2 separate regions of the Homo sapiens genome follow, and region 2 is linked to region 1. Evidence: promoter capture Hi-C in human tissues and cell types (Jung and others, 2019). All regions are on one chromosome and are shown on one strand. The core of a region is centred on a gene start or on the middle of the fragment in contact, and the rest is flanking DNA. Distances in the headings are between cores, read along the strand shown. Region 1 holds the start of CELA3A (chymotrypsin like elastase 3A). Region 2 has its middle 5.8 kb from the start of CDC42.

The links. The method cuts DNA at HindIII sites, captures the fragments that hold promoters and counts their contacts. A contact is called where the count stands out against the background at its distance.
Region 2: a contact is called between a fragment that was not itself captured here and the fragment with the promoter of CELA3A in region 1, in 1 of the 25 tissues and cell types used here (pancreas).

What each region holds. Positions count from the first base shown.
Region 1 is chr1:21,996,711-22,004,663 of GRCh38, forward strand. CELA3A (chymotrypsin like elastase 3A) reads left to right here and starts at 4,947. Exons shown (of 8, transcript NM_005747.5): 1 at 4,947-5,007; 2 at 6,293-6,378. The coding sequence starts at 4,965. It also overlaps a transcript of CELA3B not described here. The HindIII fragment of the contact is 21,174 bases long and covers 1-7,953 here.
Region 2 is chr1:22,042,928-22,050,880 of GRCh38, forward strand. No RefSeq gene overlaps it. Among named protein-coding and RNA genes, the nearest start is that of CDC42, 5.8 kb to the right of the region's middle. RefSeq lists an enhancer at 2,206-2,375. The HindIII fragment of the contact is 4,522 bases long and covers 4,292-7,953 here.

The DNA of each region.
Region 1 (7,953 bases), core at 3,697-6,196:
ACTGGCCGTGGGGAAAGGGCTGTGCCTGTCCCCACTGCCATTGCTCAATAACCTCCTTGGATCCCAGCCGGGATGATGCCTTCCCTGGGACAAGAGATACCTGCATACTGTCCTAGCCCTGGGTTCCCATGGTGGCTTCTTTGTACCACAGGTGGGGCACCTGCAGGGCCTCCTTCCCCATCCCTGACACTGCTGACCCATCTGAGACAGCTGGGGCTGGTAGCTGGGAAATGTTGACCTGTAGTCATCAAAGAGATCAGAATCCGGTTTTTAAGAATTTATTCCAGCAAAAATCTGAGAATAGTCATCCAGAAACATGGGCTCCAGAGAAGAGGAGTAAGTGCTCCAAAGTTAAAAGTTAAAGTCCCGCCGGGCGTGGTGGCTCACGCCTGTAATCCTGGCATTTTGGGAGGCTGAGGCGGGCAGATCATTTGAAGTCAGGAGTTTGAGACCAGGCTGGCCAACCTGGTGAGACCCCATCTCTACTAAAAATACAAAAAATTAGCCGGGCGTGGTGGTACATGCCTGTAACCCCAGCTACTTGGGAGGCTGAGGCAGGAGAATTGCTTTAACCTGGGAGGCAGAGGTTGCAGTGAGCTGAGATCGTGCCATTGCACTCCAGTCTGGCACGACTCATCTCAAAAAAAAAAAAAAGAGCAAGACAAGAGCAAGACTCGTCTCAAAAAAAAAAAAAAATGCTGGGCGTGGTGGCTCACGACTGTAATCCCACACTTTGGGAGGCCAAGGTGGGTGGATCACCTGAGGTTAGGAGTTTGAGAACAGCCTGGCCAATGTGGTGAAACCCTGCCTCTACTAAAAATCCAAAAATTAGCCTGGTGTGGTGGCAGGTGCCTGTAATCCCAGCTACCTGGGAGGCTGAGGGCAGAAGAATCACTTGAACCCGGGAGGCGAAGGTGGCAGTGAGCCGAGATCTAGCCATTGCACTCCAGCCTGGGGGACAAGAGTGAGACTTCGTCTCCAAAAAAAAAAAAAAATTATGATCTTGCTCATACAGGCAGGAAACAAATTTAGTAGGACTATAACATTTCTATACCAGGCTGGTTTATGAGTTACAACAATATAGCTAGTTAAAATTTGTCTTCTTTTCCATACACTTTGTTTTATTTTCCTTTCCAATTTGTGTATTTAACATTCTATCTTAGATAATGTGATAGTCATGAAGTCTTTGTGTGAGAGAGAAAAGAAGGAAGTTAATCTATAATGAAGATTGACTGTTGAGAGGGAAACAGTCTGCCCTGTCACCCTTTAGTCATTTACAACATTTTATAAAACAATGTAGTTAAGGAAAAGCTAATCGATAACACAAACAAAAGTTATGCCTTCCTGTTTACATTACTCAGGTCCCATAATCTCATTCCCTTAAGTCTAAGGTATTTTAAAGTTCCAACAGCTTAGATTTTGAATATCTTATTTTCACAGAAACTACAGGGCAACAAGGCACCAGAGTCCCGGACTTAGGACCACTGTGTGTGATTCACCGTGAACACTGGCATATTAAAGGCTCTGAGAAGTCCTGTAGGAAAGGACAATTTGAACTTTGTTTGAGCTCATATTTTCCAATCCCATCTGACCTTTAGTTCTTCACTGAGTGCCCACTGGGTTATATTCTGGGAGCCGAGGCCACAGCAGTGAACAAAGCACACAAAACCCCCCGCCCCATGGGGGCTCCGTTCTAGTGGGTCCATTTATCATCAAACATCTATTAATATCTCTAGAATGTGCCCATCAGGACACCATCCAGATGCTGCTGCGCTTTTCCAGGCCACACAGAGGGGACACCCTCCAGGTGCATCCTGCATGAATATCAGGCTCAACCGTGCTTTCAGGGTAGGAAGCGGAGGGCATTTGAAGAGTCCTTTCCCTTCCTTCATTCATTTGTTGTCTCCTTGAATAAATGCTGTTGAAAACCTACCATGTGCCAGGCTCCCTTCTAGGTACTGGGAATCGGAAGATGAATAAGATAAAGTTTTGATCCTCAAAGAGCTTCCTGTGGGGTGGGAACTGGAAAGAATGGAACTCCCCCAGTCCCGGGAAAAAGGCTCACCAGCTTCCCCTCCGTCCCCTCGCCAGCTTCCCCGCCCTCCCTCTCCTTCCCAGACTGACCTCCTAATTTTGCATACTCTCCGACCTAACCTCCACCTCCCATTCAGGAAATGGCTTGCTTTGCTTCAGGCTGAGGCCTAAAGTAGATCTAACCCCTCCATCTTCCCTCTTGCGGGGCAGGTGTTGGAAGGAGGTTCATCTTCAGGGATTTCACTCAAGCTACTCCTAGGCCAGAAAACCCTCGGAGAGTTAATCAGCCGTGCAACTGCCAGTGTCAGTCCATAAGGCCTTGAAGTAACCAATCAGGCAGGGGTTGTGGTGGGACAGTTGGCGTCAGGGAGCCCCTCTCCCTGGGGACCCAGCAGAGCCGACAGAGAGGCTGGGACTTGCTCAAGGTCACCTGGGTAAGAAGCCGGGAAGGCTTCTCGGTTGAAGTTGGGGGAGGGAGAGTGGACCCTCCCGTGTCCGTGGGCTACCCTTCACCAGGCCAAGCAGTAACAAACCAGGGAAACTTGACCAAGTCCTGGCTTTTCTCTGGGTCATCATTTTCTTCTTCTTTTTTTTTTTTTTGTGACAGAGTTTTGCTCTTATTGCCCAGGCTGGAGTGCAATGGCACGATCTCGGCTCACCGCAAACTCCGCCTCCCAGGTTCAAGCGATTTTCCTGCCTCACCCTCCCTAGTAGCTGGGATTACAGGCATGTGCCACCACACCCGGCTAATTTTGTGTTTTTAGTAGAGATGGGGTTTCTCCATGTTGGTCAGGCTGGTCTCGAACTCCTGACCTCAGGTGGTCCACCCTCCTCGGCCTCCCAAAGTGTTGGGATTACAGGCGTGAGCCACTGTGCCTGGCCCATCATTTTCCCTTCTGTCAAATAAAAGTGGTTGGATTAGATCGCGTTTTAGGCCCTGTGGGTTTCAGACACTCTACAGTGGAATCTGGGCTTATCGGACCTAACCCTATCTCTCCCCAGCCACCTCCTGGGCCCCTCCCTCCTTCTTCCCTGGCGTAGGGTCTGGGGAATGGCTCAGAGCTTTCAAGCTGAGCAAACATGTCCGGGCACATAGGGAACAGAGGGTAGGGGAGGGCATGGCTATTTTTATCACAGTATAAAGGATTTTCACAGCTGCTTCCCTTGTGTCCACACACGTTCCACGAACCCAGGCTATCAGAGTGGCTAGGCTGTGATTGGAGGGGGTTCACTCCTAAAACAAAACCTGCTCAGCAAGATGCCTGACTTTCCCCCAGGAGGGATCTATTTAAATTGCCCCGTCTGGCCGGATGCAGTGGCTCATGCCTGTAATCCCAGTACTTTGGGAGGTCGAGGTGGGTGGATCACCAGAGGTCAGGAGTTGGAGACCAGCCTGGCCAACATGGTGAAACCCCGTCTCTACTAAAAATACAAAAATTAGCCGGGCGTGGTGGTGCGCGCCTGTAATCCCAGCTACTCAGGAGGCTGAGGCAGGAGAATCGCTTGAACCCGTGAGGTGGAGGTTGCAGTGAGCCAAGATCGCACCACTATAAAAAAAAAAATCTATTGTGTGAATATGCTACACATATTGACCTATGAACCTTGATGGACGTGGGAGTTGTTTCTAGGTCTTTGCTGTTGAGTTTTGAGAACAGGGGCTGCGGCAAACAATCTCATCCACACCTCCTGGAGCACATGCCTAAGGTTTTCTCACGGTATAGACCTAGGAGGGAAACGGCTGGATCACCTGTGAATTCCACTTTCGGGGTCGCCTGCTCTTTGACCTCATCTCCCACCCCTCTCTACTTTGACTACCAAGCTCCTGTCACACTGGCCTCCCCTTCCTTGAACAAGTCAAGCCCATTGCAGCCTCCAGAACTTCGCACCTGCTGTCGCCTCCCTTCAGAGCGCGTTTCTTTCAGGGATTCCCGTGGCTGGCTTTTACTTATCCTCAGGACTCCATCAGATATGACCTCCTCAGCCCAAATGTCACTTTCTCTGTCCCCCCCATCTAAATGACTTACTCCCATTCCTACCCCAATCACCTATGTTTCATTTTCTTTTCTTCTCTGTTTTTTTTTTTGGTTTTGTTTTTGTTTTTTGAGACAGTGTTGCTCTGTGGCCCAGGCTGGAGTGCAGTGGCATGATCTCGGCTCTCTGTAGCCTCTGCCTCTCCGCTCCCAGGTTCAAGTGATTCTCCTCCCTCAGCCTCCCAGTAGCTAGGATTACAGGTGCTGGGATTACAGGTGCTCACCACCACACCTGGCTAATTTTTGTAGTTTTAGTAGAGATAGGGTTTCATCATGTCTCGAACTTCTGACCTCAAGTGATCCTCCCACCTTGGCCTCCCAAAGCGCTGGGATCACAGGTGTGAGCCACCGCTCCTGGCCTAGACTCAAACTCTAGAAGGGCTGAGACCATGCATTTTTCACAGCTGTATCCCCTAGAACAGTGCCTGATACATAGAGAAAAAGTGCTCAACAAGAATTTTTTTGTGGAGGTGGGTACTAATATAAATCTCATGTTAGAGAGCAGAAAACTGAGACTCAGAGAGGTTAAGCCATGCGCCCAAAGTCGCAGAGCTTGAAGGTGGCAGAACCAGGATTGAACCGTGGTCTGCCCGGTTCCAGTGCCCCTGTTCTTTCCGAAAGAGGAGGTCTTGTCCTGACATGAGCTTTTCTTCCTGAACTCTTGTTATCAGTTGGCCACTCCACACCACCTGTCCAGCCACCTGTTGGAGGGAACGCTAGGTCCTCCCTTTGGCTGTCACTTGTCCATCTGCAGCAGGCGAGGACTGTGGCCTTGGACCATGGGAGACCTGGAGTTCCACCACCTGTTCTGGGAGTGGGGCCCAATCAGCCCCCCTGCTTACCTTCTGCCCTATATTAGAGCCCCAGGCTCTGTGCCCTTTTCCTATCATCACAAAACTCATGATGCTCCGGCTGCTCAGTTCCCTCCTCCTTGTGGCCGTTGGTAAGACCCCAACCTGTCTGTGTGCTCCCTGGGCTGCCCTGGACTAGGAATCCTTGAAATCTACCACTCGCTCTGAGTCCCATGACATGCTATGCCTGGTTCCACAGGAGGGGGTCTCAGCTTGTACCCGGGGGCATGACTGTAGGGGCTTTCAGCTTATGATGGAGCAGGAGAGTGGAGGGGAAGCTGTGGATGGTGAAAGACCCCCAAAGGGCTGTGGTGGAAGTCCTTGATGGGGGCAGTAAACAAAGTCAAACGGTTAAGAGTTTGGACTGTGTGGTTGGACTTCTTGGGTTGGAATTTCCACAGTTCTACTTACCACTCCAACTCTCCTCTCACTCCCCCTACCTGGCTCCATATTCTATGCTCTGGCCTTTTCCTGGTCTCTCTGCCATATTACATTCCAGCTCAGGGCCACCTCTTCCAAACAGCCTCCCTTGACTGACAATAATGGTAACAGATAACATTGATTGAGTGCTTACTATGCCAGGCAGAATGTTTAGGGATTTTCTTATACTTTCTCATGTAATTCTCACAACAGCCTCAGGAGATCAGTACTATCATTATCCCCCATTTTACTGACCCTCAAGGAAGTAAAGTAGCTTATCATAGAACAAAAGGCAGAGCTGCACTTAATGTTTTTATTTTTTGCTTTTTTTTTGTAGAGATGGGGTCTTGCTTTGTTGCCCAGACTGGTCTCAAAATCCTGGCCTCAAGCAATCCTACCACCTTAGCCTCCTGAGTAGCTGAGATTATAGGCACATGCCACCATACCTGGCTACTTTATTTTATTGTACTTTATTTTTCTAGAGATGAGGTCTTGCTATGTTGCCCAGGCTGGTCTCAAACTCCCGGGCTCAAGCGATCCTCCCGCCTCGGCCTCTCAGAGCACTAGGATTACAGGTGTGAACCACCACACACAGCCCAGAGCTGCACTTTGAACCCAGGAAGTCCTTCTTTAAAGCCTCCACTCTGTATGACAATAGCTCTCACTTTTTGAGGGCTCATCGAGGGCCAGGCATTGTTCTAAGTGTATCAAGCTCTTCAATCCTCCCAATGAAGGAGGCCACATTTGAATCTCTATCCCTGGACTCCTGGGATTCTGGAAAGCCCTGCTCTAGTTTAAATGTTCACTGTTCATATGTGGTTACTGAGGTCCAGAGGGCGAAAGGGGCTTGCATGGGGTCACACAGCCAGTTGAAGGCATGGCTTGGACTGGGACCCTGGCCTCCTCTTTGCTTTTGGGGACCCTCCAGCTGATTGACAGCTCTCCTCTCCCCTCTAGCCTCAGGCTATGGCCCACCTTCCTCTCACTCTTCCAGCCGCGTTGTCCATGGTGAGGATGCGGTCCCCTACAGCTGGCCCTGGCAGGTAAGAGCAATAGCAGCTGCCCTCATTCCCACCGTGGGCTCTGGACCCTAAGCTCTAATGGCGTGGCATCCAGCCTTGACACCATTGCTCCCTTTGCAATGTCCACTTCAGCTTCCAAAGACCAGGCAGCCCTTGGACCATCTACTTCACGGGGAGGTTTTGCCCGTTTCATCTGTAACCCTCACTGGGCTATTTGCAACTTAAAATTGGAATCGGGGGTGAAGGAAATGCTAAACTCAAGGAGTTGGCACACTGATGGTGGAATTTCAGGCACTGTGTTGACGAAGTGAGATTTTGAGAGACTCATTTCTAGATTCCTAGGATGATACTACAGGGCTTTGAGGTCTGAAAGCAATAAGGGAGTGAGGGATCTTGTAAGGCCAGTGGAGGGAAGCTCAGAAGGCTGGACTTGATGTGCTGTGGCTATTTAAATTTAATTAAATTAGGCCAGGTGCGGTGGCTCACGCCTGTAATCCCAGCTACTCAGGAGGCTGAGGCAGGAGAATCCCTTGAACCTGGGAGTTGGAGGTTGCAGTGAGACAAGATTGCACCACTGCACTCCAGCCCCGGGCAACAGAGTGAGACTCTGTCTCAAAAAAAAAAATTAAATTAAATTATTATTACTATTATTATTGAGACAGAGTTTCACTCTTGTTGCCCAGGCTGAAGTGCAATGGCACAATCTTGGCTCACTGCAAACTCTGCCACCCGGGTTCAAGCAATTCTCCTACCTCACCTCCCAAGTAGCTGGGATTACAGGCACGCGCCACCAAGCCCGGCTAATTTTGTATTTTTAGTAGAGACAGGGTTTCACTGTGTTGGCCAGGCCAGTCTGGAGCTTCTGACCTCAGGTGATCCACCTGCCTCGGCCTCTCAAAGTGCTGGGATTACAGGTGTGAGTCACTGCACCCAGCTGAAATTTACTTACATTAAAAATGTTAACAATTCATTTCCTCAGTGCTTTTTTCTTTTCTTTTCTTTTCTTTGTTTTTTTTTTTTTTGAGACAGGGTCTTGCTGTGTTGCCCAGGCTGGAGTGCAGTGGTGTGATCTCAGCTTACTGCAGCCTTGACCTCCTAGGTCCAAGCAATAATCCCACCTCAGCCTCCTGTGTAGCTAGGACTACAGGCATGCGCCACCATGCCCAGCTAATTTTTATACATTGTTGTAGAGATGGGGTCTCACTATGTTGCCCAGGCTTGCCTCGAACTTCTGAGCTCCAGTGATCCTCCTGTCTTGACCTCCCACAGTGCTGGGATTATAGGCGTAAGCCACCATGCTTGGCCTGCTTGCCACATTTCAAATGTTCAATAGTCACATGTGGCTAGTGGCTACCATATTGGACAGCAAAGATATAGAACATTCCCATGATTATGGGAAGTTTTATCGGAGAGGGTCAGCAGGCTTATTCTGTAAATGGCCAGAGAGTGAATATTTTAGGTTATTTGATGGTTTGGATAGTAATGACTTGACTGTGCCATGGTAGCATGAAAGCAGACACAAACAATACAGAAATGAATGTGACTATTTCCAGGACATCTTTATTACAAAAACAGACCAGAAGCCTGATGTGCCCC
Region 2 (7,953 bases), core at 5,303-7,802, 48 kb after region 1:
CAGATAGAGATAAGCACTATGAGGGAAGCAAAGCTGCGTGTGATAGCAGGTGGGGGGTGCTAGTTAAGCTGAGAAGGAAGAGGTCTTCTTGAAGAGGTGGTATTGGAGCAAATTCCTGTGGGGTGGAAGGGAGCAGGTGTGTACAGATAACCAGGGGGAACAGCAAGAGCAAAGCCTCTGAGCTAGGCAGAATAAATTCAGTGTGTCCGAGGAACAGCAACCAGGGCGGCATGGCCGGAGCCCAGTGAGTGAGTACGTGGTCCTGATGAGATTGGAGAGATGGACAAGGGCCTACACGATGGGGACAGAGTTGCTCAGTTATTTCTGGACTTTACTCTTTCCCCTATCCTTTCTCATCCACCCTTGTTCAGTGACCCAGATTATCTTTGCCAGAGATGTGTAAGCAAGATGAAGGAGGCAAGCCTGGGCCAGTTAGAGAAAAGGCAAGAAGGAAACAGGTTTGGTGAGTTCCTCCCCTTTCTCTGCCTCCAGGAAGGGTTCAGGTCCCTAGACAAGCATAATGATGTGGGCATAAGTGGAGGAGGGAGGCTGAACAGCTGGAGGGGCTGCAGAGGGAGCAGATCCCTTAGTGGAGGCAGCCCCAGCAGCTGTAACCCCTTGTGGTGCAGCAGGTAAACCAGGAACACGGCTGGAGTCCTGGCAGTAGGGTTGGGGGGCTCCTGGAGAGGTCTGGGCCATGACCAGCCAGGGGAATCAGGAAAGAGGGGTGGGCTGCGGTCTCAGTGATATGAATTATACAACACATCAACCTTTTGGCAACAACAGAGATACTTTAATATATTTATTTTCAACTTTAATTAATTTTTATTTATTTTTTTGAGACGGTGGTCTCACTCTGTTGCCCAGGCTCAAGTGCAGTGGTGTGATCTTGGCTCACTGCAGCCTTGAACTCCTGGCTCAAATGATCCTCCCACCTCCTGAGTAATTAGCACTACAGACGCACACCACCATTCCCGGCTAATTTTTGTATTTTTTTTGTAGAGACGAGGGTCTTGCTATGTTGCCTAGGCTTTAACTTTTTTTTTTTTGAGACAGAGTCTCACTCTGTTGCCCAGGCTGGAGTGCAGTGGCATGATCTCCTCTCACTGCAACCTCCATCTCCTGGGTTCAAGTGATTCTCCTGCCTCAGCCTCCCAAGTAGCTGGGATTACAGGCACCCACCACCACACCTGCTAGTTTTTGTATTTTTAGTAGAAATGGGATTTCACCATGTTGGCCAGGCTTGAACTCCTGACCTCAAGTGATCTGCCCGCCTCAGCCTCCCAAAGTGCTAGGATTACAGCCTTGAGCCACTGTGTCTGGCCCTAACTTTTATTATTTATTTATTTATTTATTTATTTCGAGACAGAGTCTTGCTCTGTCACCCAGGCTGGAGTGCAATGACACCATCTTGGCTCACTGCGACCTCCGCCTCCCGGGTTCAAGCCATTCTCCTGCCTCAGCCTTTCAAGTAGCTGGGACTACAGGCATGCATCACCATGCCTGGCTAATTTTTGTATTTTTAGTAGAGACGGGCCCTGTTGGCCAGGCTGGTCTTGAACTCCTGACCTCAAGTGATCCACCTGCCTCAGCCGCCCAGAGTGCTAGGATTACAGGCATGAACCACTGCACCTGGCCTTTTATTTTTTAATGAACTATTACACATACGAAAAGCAAATAAAACATGTACCATAGAATAAATAATGATAAGGCAAACATCCATGTAATCATCACCCAGGTCATGAAATAGAACACTGCCAACACTGCCCCCCCAGTACCCCCATCCCTTCCAGATTCTAACCCCCTTTAGAGGCGGCCACTAGCTGAATTTGTATGATAATCACTTCCTTGGTTTTCTTCGCAGTTTTTGCCTATGAATCACACAGAAAGTCTTAAATTAGAATTTTCTCACACAAATCCCAAGCCTGAAGACCTTGGAGGAGAGCCTCTTTAATGTAGATCTTCTTCTTCTTTAGTAAATCTTGGCAGGCCCTTGGGGAGATGGTGGTGGATTTGCAGTCTTGCATTTGGCAGAGAATGCAGTATGAGGCTTCTCTCATTCAGCCAAAGTGTTCTAGGGATCTGAAGAGGACTGTGAGGGGCACAGCAATGCATCCAAAACCAAGCTTGCCCCTGGGAGCTTGCAGTAGGGTGGAAAAAGTGTGGGTAAACATGATAGCCCAGACAGAGGGCCTGGAGAGGGGCTCTGATAAGGGCTCTGGGGGTTTAGAAGAGCCAGCAATCCCTTTTGGCAGTGGGAAGCAGAGCTGGCTTTGTGTAAGAGGTGGTGGTGTATGCATTCATGCATCATTTATCAAACATTTTTGAGGGATGGCAGTGTGCCAGGAAATTAGGTAAAAAAAAATAAAATGAATAAGATCTCTGCCTGCTTATGGCCTAATAGTTTAGCATAAATAGATACAAATAATTCCAATATGAGATGCTTTAAATACAAAGTGATATAAGACTGATTGGTTGCCTGGGGTTGTCGGGAGATTTCAAAACTAAGGCCTAGGCCAGTCCTTGAAGGAGAGAAGAGTGGAGTTTGGCAGACAGAGAAGGGAGCCACTGAATCCACAGAGGCACAGAGGTGGGAAAGGACACAAGGTGGATGTTGGCAAAATGTACAGTTCATGGTGGGAAGAAGAGTGGACTTGACATGTAGGATGGATAAGCAGGAAAGGTGTTTTAGGGAAGAGGATCAGCATGAGCAGTGGCAGAGAGGTGAGAAGTCATGGTTCCTGCCTGTATGATACTAAGTATTATACAGTCTAGCTGTAGCATAGGTGTGTAGTGGAAGGTGTGATGATTAATTTTATATGTCAACTTGACTGGGCCATGGGGTGCCCAGATATTTGGTCAAACATTATTTTCGGTGTGACTGCAAACTTGTTTCTGGATGAGATTAAGATCTGAATCAGGAGACTGAGCAAAACAAATTGCCCTCTCATCCAATCAGTTGAAGGCCAACATAAAACAAAAAGGCTGACCCTCCCTTGACTGAGGGAGAATTTTTCTTGCCTTCAGACTTCAAAGAGAAACACTGGCTCTTCCTCTGTCTTGAGCCTGCTGGCCTTTGGACTGGAACTGAAACATCAGCTCTCCTGGTTCTCAGGCCTTCAGGCTTGGACTGGAGCTACACCATTGGCTCTCCTGGGTCTCCAGCTCAGTGACTCACCCTGTGTATCTTGGGACTTGTCCTCCATAGTCGTGTGAGTGAGCCAATTATAATAAATCTCTTATAATAAATCTTTCTCTCTATATATATATATGTATATTTTATATATAGAGATTATTATATATAATTTATATATTATGTATGATTATATAATATATAATTTATATATTATATATAGACCATTCTATATGTATATATAACCACTCTCTATATAGAGAATGGTTTTATTTTTATTATTATTTCGAGATGGAGTCTCCCTCTGTCGCCCAGGCTGGAGTGCAGTTGTTCGATCTCGGCTCACTGCAACCTCCACCTCCTGGGCTCAAATGATTCTCCTGCCTCAGCCTCCCAAGTAGCTGAGATTACAAGCACGCATCACTACACACAGCTAATTTTGTATTTTTAGTAGATATGAGGTTTCACCATGTTGGCCAGGCTGGTCTCGAACTCCTGACCTCAAGTGTTCCACCCGCCTTGGCCTCCCAGAGTGCTGGGATTACAGGTGTGAGGCACTGCACATGGCCAGAATGGTTTTATATGTAATATATAAATAATATATATTACCATTCTATTGGTTCTGTTTCTCTGGAGAACTATGACTAATACAAAAAGAAAGGGAAATCACTTTGGAAAGGCAAAGATCATAGAGGACATAGAATGTCTGGGTAAAGTCTTAAATTTTTTTTTTTTTTTTTGAGATGGAGTCTCTCTCTGTCACCCAGGCACTGCAACCTCCACCTCCTAGATTGAAGCGATTCTCCTGCCTCAGCCTCCTGAGTAGCTGGGATTACATGCATGCACCAACATACCCAGCCAATTTTTGTATTTTTAGTAGAGATGGGGTTTCACCATGTTGGTCAAGCTGGTTTCAAACTCCTGACCTCATGATCTGCCCACCTCGGCCTCCCAAAGTGCTGGGATTACAGGTCTGAGTCACTGTACCCAACCAAAGGTCTTAAATTTTATTCTGAAGACAAAGGAGAAAACACTGAAGGTTTCTGAGTAAGGGAGTGACCTAATCAGAGCGATGATATAGGAAGATAAATGCTGTGCTTTGTCAAATGAGTTAAAGTAGAGATTCTTTTTTTTTTTTTTTTTTTTTGAGACGGAGTCTTGCTCTGTGGCCAGGCTGGAGTGCAGTGGTGCGATCTCTGCTCACTGAAACCTCCGCCTTCCGGGTTCAAGCGATTCCCCTGCCTCAGCCTCCTGAGTAGCTAGGACTACAGGTGAGCGCCACTATACCCAGCTAATTTTTTGTATTTTAGTAGAGACAGGGTTTCACCATGTTGGCCACAATGGTCTTGATCTCCTGACCTCGTGATCCTCCCGCCTTGGCCTCCCAAAGTGCTGGGATTAGAGGCGTGAGCCACCGCACCCAGCTGAGATTCTTTTTATTTATTTTTTTGAGACAGGGTCTTGCTTTGTCACCCAGGCTGGAGTGCAGTGTAGTGCACTGGCATGATCATGGCTCACTGCAGCCTCAACATCGCAGGCTCAAGCGACCCTCACATCTCAGCCTCCCCAAGTAGCTGGGACTACAGGTGCTTGCCACCACACGGTTTTTATATTTCTTGTAGAGATGAGGTCTCAGTATGTTGCCCAGCCTGGTCTCAAACTCCTGGGTTCAAGTGATCCTCCCGCTTCAGCCTCCCAAAGTGTTGGGATTATAGGCATGAGCCACCATGCCTGGACTAAAGCAGAGAGCTTGAAGGGAGCCTCTAGAAATTAGATATGAATTTTGTGGGTATAGGATCTGTGATGCAGAAAAGGTTGAGAACTCCTGGATATACAAGGCTGTAGGGGCCAAAAGCAGACATAGGTGCTTAGACCCTGGAGTAGGTGGGAGCTGGAAGATGATTTTGATGGTGCTGAGTAGCTGGAAATTTGAAAATGGGGGTAGGATGCCGGGCGCGGTGGCTCACGCCTGTAATCCCAGCACTTTGGGAGGCTGAGGCGGGTGGATCGCCTGTAGTCAGGAGTTTGAGACCAGCCTGGCCAACATGGTGAAACCCCATCTCTACTAAAAAATACAAAAATTAGCTGGGCATGGTAGCAGTTGCCTGCAATCCCAGCTACTCGGGAGGCTGAGGCAGGAGAATCACTTGAACCTGGGAGGGGAGGTTGCAGTGAGCTGAGATCGCACCATTGCACTCCAGCCTGGTTGACAGAGTGAGACTCTGTCTCAAAAAAAAAAAAAAAAAAAAAAAAATTGGGGGTGGGAATAGGGGTTGGAAGAGGTATAGATTTGGGAGTTATTACCTAGAGGGTAGGGACAAGTACCTCATGGGCAGACAAGCAGGGCAGGGGTGGCAGTGATTCATCAAGAGTTTGGCAGTCATAAGCAACAGAAACCTACTCAACCTCGTTCAGGCAATAGAGGGAATTTATTGCTAATGTGACTGAAGATTGAAGCAAGACTGGATCTGATGTCTCATGCAATGCCACTGGGACTTGGTTTCATGTCTCCATCTCTCAGTTCTGTTTCCCCCTCTGTCTTGGTCTCATTCTCAGGCAGCATCTCTGCTTGCAGTGGGAAGCTGGCTGCCAGCAGTGCCACGATTACATCCTACTCTCAGCAAACAGAGATTCACTGAACTGAATAGTTGTGACCAAAGTTCCAGAATTAAATCTCATTGGGTCACATGCCTGTTGCTGAAATGGTGTGGCAACAGGGCTCTCTATAATGCTGTGATTGGCCAAGCCTGGGTCACGTGTCCATTCCCGCAACTAGAGATAGTGTCATCTCTAGAGCCACATGGATTGAGAGTTGGGGCAGGGGCTGCTCTAGGAGAAATGGAAGTGCTGTTACCAGAAGGAAGAATGGACACCGGAATGGTAGCCACCGGGAAGGGAGCCGGAGTCCCACAGGCTGTCCCTCCTGTTAACATGAGGCAGCTATAGCAGTGGGGCAGTAGCGGGGAGGCACTAGGAGGCTGGGGGCTGGGCCAGCAGTGAGGGACATGGTAGATTGGGTCAAGTAATAGTAACACCATTGCCACTGCTGTTTGGGGCTGTGAAAAGGTCTAGGAGGGTTCTTCTGACAAAAAACCTGACAACATAAAAGACATAGTGCTAAGTAAGTCCTTGTCCTCAGAATAAAGGCAGGAAAAGCTGAACAGTTGGGTGACACCCCATCAAGATATTGCTGCTACTGGAAAGGGCAGACGTTGTCTGGGGACATTCATGGGATTGTGAGACAGGATGAAGGAAAGGGCACTGCCAGCTGGACTTGTGAAGGGAAGAAACAACCATTTTCCCCTCAAGTTTAAAAAATGAAGCTTATGCATTTTTACAATAGTAATAAATTCACAATAGCCCAAAACAACCCAAATTCCAACAGTAGGAGTCTGGGTAAATATTGCAATGCCCGGAGAGTAAAATGCAGCCTTTACAAATGATGCTTTATTTGACATGGAAAGATGTTCACAATGTAGTTTTTTTGTTTTGTTTTGTTTTTGTATTTTTTGTAGAGATGGGTGGGGGCAGGTCTTGCTATGTTGCCCAGACTGGTCTTGAACTCCTGGGCTCAAGTGATCCACCCGCCTCGGCCTCCCAAAGTGTTAGGATTATAGGTGTGAGCCACATTAGAGGTAGGACTACAGCTGAAGCTTATCTTCCTGTTTTTTTTTTTTAGGTGGGGTTTTGTTCTTGTTGCCCAGGCTAGAGTGCAATGGCGCAATCTCGGCTCACTGCAACCTCTGCCTCCCAGGTTCCAGCGATTCTCCTGTCTCAGCCTCCCGAGTAGCTGCGAATACAAGTGCATGCCACACCCAGCTAATTTTTGTATTTTTAGTAGAGAAAGGGTTTCACCATGTTGGTCAGGCTAGTCTTGAACTCCTGACCTCAAGTGATCCGCCCACCTCGGCCTCCCGGAGTGCTGGAATTACAGGCGTGAGCCACCGCACCTGGCTTTTTTTTTTTTTTTTTTTTGAGACAGAGTTTCACTTTTTTGTCGCCTAGGCTGGAGTGCAATGGCATGATCTCGGGGTCACTGCAACCTCCGCCTCCTGGATTCAAATGATTCTCCTGCCTCAGCCTCCCAAGTAGCTGGGATTACAGGCACCTGCCACCACACCGAGCAAATTTTTGTGTGTGTGTTTTTTAGTACAGATGGGGTTTTACCATGTTGGTCAGGCTGGTCTTCAACTCCTGACCTCAGGTGATCCACCAGCCTCAGCCTCACAAAGTGCTGGGATTACAGATGTGAGCCACTGTGCCTGGCCTGAAGCTTATCTTCTAATTTCTCTATAATAAACCTGCTTGATAGTGTGGTAGTGTCATAGTCAACTAGAGCCAGCCTCCTGAGTGCAAGTCTCAGCTCTGCCACTGCTTGGCATGGCGGCTATGGACAAGTCTCTTAACACCTCTGAGCTTCAGTTCATGTAACCATAAAGTGGGGGTAACAGTTCTTAACTCATAGGGTGGCTGTGAGTATTAAATTAGCTACTACTACCTGCAAAGCTATTAGCCATACCTGCAGTAAACACTAAAAAATGTAGTTCTTATTTTTGGGTAATTAAAAAATCCAAAAGAGGGCTGGGTGCGGTGGCTTACACCTGTAATCGCAGCCCTTTGGGAGGCCAAGGCAGGTGGATCACAAAGTCATGAGTTCAAGACCAGCTTGGCCAATATGGTGAAACCCCGTCTCTACTAAAAATACAAAAATTAGCTGGGCATGGTGGTGGGCACCTGTAGTCTCAGCCACTTGGGAGGCTGAGGCAGGAGAATTGCTTGAACCCGGGAGGCGGAGATTGCAGTGAGCCGAGATCGAACCA